Linked DNA regions of Homo sapiens: region 2 is linked to region 1. Evidence: promoter capture Hi-C in human tissues and cell types (Jung and others, 2019). All regions are on one chromosome and are shown on one strand. Each heading gives the region's core, a stretch centred on a gene start or on the middle of the fragment in contact. The rest is flanking DNA. Distances are from core to core; before and after follow the strand shown.

What was found. The method cuts DNA at HindIII sites, captures the fragments that hold promoters and counts their contacts. A contact is called where the count stands out against the background at its distance.
Region 2: a fragment that was not itself captured here is called in contact with the fragment with the promoter of RPN2 in region 1 in 1 of the 25 tissues and cell types used here (dorsolateral prefrontal cortex).

The regions. Positions count from the first base shown.
Region 1 is chr20:37,177,719-37,180,862 of GRCh38, forward strand. RPN2 (ribophorin II) reads left to right here and starts at 1,612. Exons shown (of 17, transcript NM_002951.5): 1 at 1,612-1,651. The coding sequence starts at 1,639. MROH8 (maestro heat like repeat family member 8) reads right to left here and starts at 1,830. Exons shown (of 25, transcript NM_152503.8): 1 at 1,671-1,830; 2 at 1,505-1,669. The coding sequence starts at 1,762. RefSeq lists enhancers at 1,170-1,729, 1,238-1,317, 1,668-1,717, 1,730-2,287 and a silencer at 1,838-1,887. The HindIII fragment of the contact is 12,130 bases long and covers 1-3,144 here.
Region 2 is chr20:38,210,236-38,213,379 of GRCh38, forward strand. It overlaps KIAA1755, which reads right to left. Exons shown (of 14, transcript NM_001029864.2): 14 at 268-3,144. The coding sequence ends at 2,807. Among named protein-coding and RNA genes, the nearest start is that of TGM2, 47 kb to the left of the region's middle. The HindIII fragment of the contact is 7,984 bases long and covers 1-3,144 here.

The DNA of each region.
Region 1 (3,144 bases), core at 362-2,861:
CCAATCTGATATCCACTAGTTATCTGTGGCTACTGAGCACTTGAAATGTGGCTAGTACAAATGAGAGACTGAATTTTAAATTTTACTTAATTTTAATCCATTTAAATTCAAATTTAAATATCCACATAAGGCTAGTGGCTATCATAACAGACACAGAAAGAACTGACTCTCTCCCATGCGGGATAACATTTGGGACAATAATAACGTTAATAAGAGTTATATTGTGCATACTTTATATGTTCATAAAACTGTAGTTAAAAGCACAGATTCTGGAGTCAGCTGCCTAGGTTCAAATCTGTTTCCTTCTCTTTAAAATGGGATTAGCCTGTAATCTCAGCACTTTGGGAGGCTAAGGCCGAAGGATCCTTTGAGCCCGAGTTCCAGACCAGCCTGGGCAACAAAGCGAGACGCGGTATCTACCAAAAATAATTTTAAAGATTAGCTGGGCGTGGTGTCGCAAGGCAGCAGTCCCAGCTACTCCGGAGGCTGAGGCGGGAGGGAAGATTGCTTGAGCCCAGGATGTCGAGGCTGCAGTAAGCTGTGATCGCACCACTGCACTCCAGCCTGGGCGACAGAGCAAGATCCCGTATCAATAAAAAAGGAAAGAAAAGAAATAATGCTTGTAGAGCGTTCGGCACAGTGTCGGGTTATACTGTAAACATTCAGTAGTTGGCGCTAGTTATTAGAGCGGTGTTCCTGGATGAGCCACCTCCATGTTGAGCCTGTAAAACTGGCCTAATATGTTCTCTATGAGTCACTGCATTGCTCTGCAAATCAGATAAAACGTCACTCGTAGGTCAGTTATTAACAACCCCACTGATAATCTTTGGAAAAAACTGACATAATTTTCTTTTTCTTTTTTTTTTGGTGAGACGGAGATTTACTCGTTGCCCAGGCTGGAGTGCAATGGCGCGATCTTGGCTCACCGCATCCTCCGCCTCCCAGGTCCAAGCGATTCTCCTGCCTCAGGCTCCCGAGTAGCTGGGATTACAGGCATGTGTGACCACGCCCGGCTAATTTTGTATTTTTAGTAGAGACGGGGTTTCACCGTGTTGCCCAGGCTGATCTCGAACTCCTCACCTCAGGTAATCCGCCCGCCTCGGCCTCCCAAAGTTCTGGGATTACAGGCGTGAGCCACTGCGCCCGGCCAGAAACTGCCACAATTTTCTAAAGAGGAAAAAAAAATCCCTTCTAAGCTATCCCCTCCCGACGAGACCCTTCCTGTTCCTTTAAAATGGGCCGGGCAGCAGAAAGACGAGTGAGTGACAGCAGACAGGCCAATCAGAAGCGGCCCCGTCTCGGGCCCACCCCGAGGCCTGGCCCAACCGCGTCCCGGTAGCTCCCGGAATAGGAGCGTTGCGAGACGGTCGGTTCCAAGTGGGCCTGGGCGCGGGGGAGAGGCGGGTCTGTCCTCGGGAACTGCAAGGCCCTGTGAGCGGGAGGACTGGGATCCCGGCCGCGGCTGCTGGAAGCGTCGAAGCTCAGCGGGGCCGCGGACACTGACCTGTGCTTAGAACTCATCCTGGCCCGCAGAGCCTGCCGCGAGTCCCTGGCGTCCCCTGTGGCGGGCTCTTGGAGCCACTTTCCCGAGCGGAAGTCAGCCCGCGGCTCGGACTCCGGCGGGACCTGCTCGGAGGAATGGCGCCGCCGGGTGAGGAGTTGCGCGTGGCTTTGGGGAGAGGGCTGTCGCCCGCGGGAGGTTACTAGTCGCCGCTCGAGAGCCGGCCAGGCGGGATCCCCTTCCCCTGCGGGACAGGGGCATGGGCACAAGCTCTGGCTGGGGCGCTCTCGGATCGAGGGTCCGAAGGAGGGCTGCGAGCTGGTGGGAGTGCCCGCGACCTGGCGGGGTTGGTGCCTGGGGGAGGGGTGCAGCGCGGAGCTACGGGTCGCCCCGAGGCTCAGCCGTGGGGACCGCGGACGCGCTTAGCCTAGGTCTGGCCTCATTCATTTCACTCGCGCGGGCTTCTGGGCCAGGCGGCCTAAGGTTCTGGTCCCGGCGCTGCCCCTTACTCCGTGTGAGGTTTTGGGCAGATTGTCCTTCTTTGTGCTGTAGTTTCCCATTCAGTGAAAGGGGCAAAGAAAACCCTCACTTCTCTCTGGGAGCCTGGAGCATAAGTTCTCAAGTGACACTCTAGGTGCAAACTTGCAGTCGGCCACGTATTCATTGTGTAACCCAAAGCAGGTTACTTAACCCCTCTACACCTCAGTTTCTCATCTGTAAAATAAGTTAGTCAAATTAGTCACGTTATCTGCCTCGTTGAGTTGCTTTATTAAGTGAAATAATCTTCGTGCTTAGTTTAGAACAGTGCATGGCCCTAGGTAAGAACTAAGTTAACTGCATTGGAAGTTACTGAGTAGACGCTGTGCAGGGTGGAATTTCATGTAGCCTCATCGTAACTTTGGAAGCATGTACTCTTGTTACTACCATTTGACAGATGAGAAGTTGGAATCCCACGGAAGGGAACTTACTTGCCCAGGGTGACACATGAATGAGTCAGTGGCTCACCGTTTCATTATTTGAGAAGTTCAGGATAGTAAAGTGGTTAAAAGCAGACTTTGGATTCAAATTGCCTGAAGTTTGATTTTCAGTGATGTGTCCTAGGGCAGGTAACTACTTCTGAGCCTTACTTTCCTGGTCTGTGAAATGCAGAAAATAGCCACCTTGCTTAGATGTTGTGAGGATTTAATGATTTGGTGTGTGCAAAGCACAGCATAGCGTGGGCATACCTAACATATTAAGTGCTCAACTTTTAGTCAGAAAAGTTACTGCTCTCGTTAACATGGAGTGAGAAGATTAGGATTCTGACACAGGTGCTGTTTTAGGGGAATTTACGGTCTAGGTGGGAAAATGCTAGTCGCAGCCATTCACTAGATCTTCATATATTGGGTACCCGCCTGTGCACAAGGCATTGGGGATTCAGCATTAGTATCTTGACTCCGCTCTCTCTTAGGTCTTTCTGTCCATTAGCAGTTTCTGATAGGCTTTGACTTTGAATTCTAGCCAGACTAACTCTCATCACTTCTCATCATGTTCACTGCTGTTGCCCTGGTTTGGGCCACCATCATCTTCTGGCTTGGATTATGGCGGTAGTCTCCCAACTGGTGTCCCCTGCTCTGTCCTTGCACCTGCATGGTCTGTTCTCC
Region 2 (3,144 bases), core at 270-2,769, 1.0 Mb after region 1:
ATCTCTGGGGGAGGCCATGCCATGCCATGCCCCTACTGTGGGCATATTTGGGCAAAGTCAATAAACTAGGCCCAGATCAAGTCCAGCTCTGCCCCTCACTGTGGCACTGGGCAAGGTACCTCCAAATCTCTCTGAGTTTCAGCTTTGTCCTCAGTAAAATAGGGTGGAATCAGTCCTCATAATGTTGTAAAAAAAATTCAACAAGCCCTGTAAAGCTTTTAGAGGATTTAGCTCAAAGCTAGGCACAAAGAAAATGCAAAAGAAATGTTAGCTGTTATTATTCGATATTTTTATACATTGTTACTCATTATGACATTTCATTTCTGCATTCCCTTCTTCCCCAGGGGATGCAGTGAGGGGAGAGATTGTTGGGGTACAGTTCTTTCTGGGGACAGAGGGATGCACAAGGTAACCTTGGGGACTCCTCCCGCCCAAGTATTCTTAGATTACCTGTGCCCGCTTTGCCCCCCTTCCTTCTAGCAGTAGCTGTGGTCTCTCACAAGTCAGTTTCCATCCCAGCACCCCAGTTTCTGTGGCTCCCTGCCTGTGGTACCCACTGGCTGGATGCTGTTGCTATGGCAACAGCATTTTAAAAGCCGTCGGCCCTCTCTGAGGCAACAGGCATGGATGGAGATGGGCTGATCAACGCCTCTTGCATCTTTGGGCCTGTCTGGATGGAAGGCAGGGAGGGGAATGCAAGAATCAAACCTGGCTTTGGGTGGAGGACTCAGGCCCCAGCCCCGGGTGTTCCCCAAATGCACCCCCACTTTGCTGAGTCACACAGGAAGAGCACTTGGCTACAAACGCAGATTCCAGCCACCTGCCAGCACCAAGAGTCTATTTTAATGTCTGGGGTAGGATTCCCTAGGAAGCCTTTTGACCGGCTCTGCTCATGGCTCTGAGGCAGGCAGGCCCTAGACCACACCTGGGGAAGTCTTCAGTCTTGGAAGATTCCTGAAGCCATTTTAGGTATCAAGTGTGTGACTCTTGGCTGAGACAGCTCCTGAGAAGCCCTAGTTGTCCTCCTGTGCCTGGCCCAGGCCTGCCTCTCTCCCCTTCACAGCCTCATTGTGGGGGACCTGTGCCCCACAGCCTCTTTCTGGAGCCAGGAAAATTCAGAGCTAGGTGACCAAGAGGCCACTTCAGTAATGCATCCTACTGCAGAGGTAAGGCAAACACTTTCAGCTTAATGACACTCCAGAGAGGCGCTGGCAGGGGCCACTCTGGCCAGTATGAAGGGTGGGGCTTCTGGATGCTCCATCTAAGATCCGACAGATAGGCCCCTTCCCACGGTCCCCAACCACCAGGACCCAGCTGCCCACAGAACCCCAATGGTACTGGGCCACAGAGGCTGGGCATAGAGAAGTGGAAGTTGGGCAGGGAAGGGGACAGAAGACATTGAGTTCAGGGAGGCTTGGTGGGGAGGTGAGAGAGAGGAGGGACCTCTAAGGCGGAGAGGATTCTCTCTGGAGGACAAGGACAAGGTTCCACAGGGTTCCTTGAACTTGAGAATGAAGGTCCCATGCCTGCTGAAGAGGCCTTGTGAGACAGGGAGCACAGAAGACATGTCCTTCCTTTCTAAGCACAGGAACCGGCCTCTGGCTCCAGGAGGCAATTCTCTTTGCCAAGACCAATGGAGCTGGCTGTGCGTGCTGTCTACGAGTGCCAGCTCCTGAGGGTTGGCAGATAAATGCTCTGGATGCCTCACGCCTCAGGGGGTGTTCAAGGATTCCATGCTGTCTTTCAGAGATCTCCAGAAAGATCCAGCTACAGTTGCCAACATGGAAATTTGTATGAGGGTGGGGCACAGTGGCTCATACGTATAATCCCAGCACTTTGGGAGGCTGAGTCCAGAGGATCACTTGAGCTTGAGATCAGCCTGCCTGGGCAACATAGCAAGACCCCATGTCTACAAAAAATAAATAAATAATAAGCTGAGCATGGTGGTGCATAACTGTAGTCCCAGCTACTTAGGAGGCTGAGGTGGGAGGATTGGTTGAACCCAGGAATTTAAGGCTATGATTGCACCACTGCACTCCAGCCTGGACACCAGAGTGAGACCCTGTCTCTGGTGGGGTCGGGGGGGGTGGGCGGAAAAGGCAATCCCAGCACTTTGGCAGGCCAAGGCAAGAGGATCACTTGAGCCCAGGAGTTTGAGACCAGCCTGGGCAATGTAGTGAGGCCCCATCTCTAAACATAAAATACAATGAAGTTTTAAAAATTAAAAAAAAGAAAATTTGCTTGACAACATACTCTTTATTCCCTTTGCAGATTCGCCTCCTACTCCCCCAGCAGAGGTTCCTGGATCAGCACCAAACACACTGATCCTTAAATCCTCATCTCAGGGTCCATTTTCCTGGAATCCAAGACAAGGAAGCACTCCCGAATCTCCCCGAGGATTCTGCCTAAGGGCAACACTGGCCCTCGTACCCGAGGGGAGAGCTGTGTATGTTCCTGAGCTGCAGGTGGGTGTCTGCCTGCCTGCGAGCGAGACCTCTGGAGGGGTCTGTGCCGACAGGTCTTTCCACAATGAGAGCCTGGAGGGATGGAGCCAATCACACCATTTATTGTGCCCTGGTTCTGACGCCCACTCTTGCTATTCTGCATGGGTGAAGATCGGGTCTTCCAGGAGTTTTCTGGAGCCAGGGGCAGGTCGACAGTTCTCATCCTCCCAGCAGAGGCAGAATGTAAAACCAGTGCTCCATGGTGACGTCTCACTGGGACTGACCAGAGCTCCCAGCTACCCCTCCAGCTGGGCCCTGGCCCAGTGCTCCTGGAGGCTGGTGCGACTGAAGGGGCCTCTCAGCTAGAGGGAGGCAAGGGGACTTGTCTGGGGTGAGTCCTCAAGGGATGTCTGTGAGTCTGTCCCCTCTGAGGAGAAGCTGCCCCCAGTGAGGCGAGGGACCTGGCTCTGCCTGGGGGGCTGCTGCCGGAAGAAGGTGGTGGCAAGCAAATGCTCGCGGGCAGGGTCAGGCAGCTTGTGGGAGCCTTTGCCGTCTTCAGCCTCTGCAGCCTGGCCAGCTTCCTGGGGTGGAGAGCCTGCCTGGAAAGTTCTGTTCTGTTCCCCTCTGGGGGGCCCAGGAGGCCAATAGGACTTTGGCAAATGGTCCATGCCCAGTGAGTCTAGTGGAGGCTGATCCCACC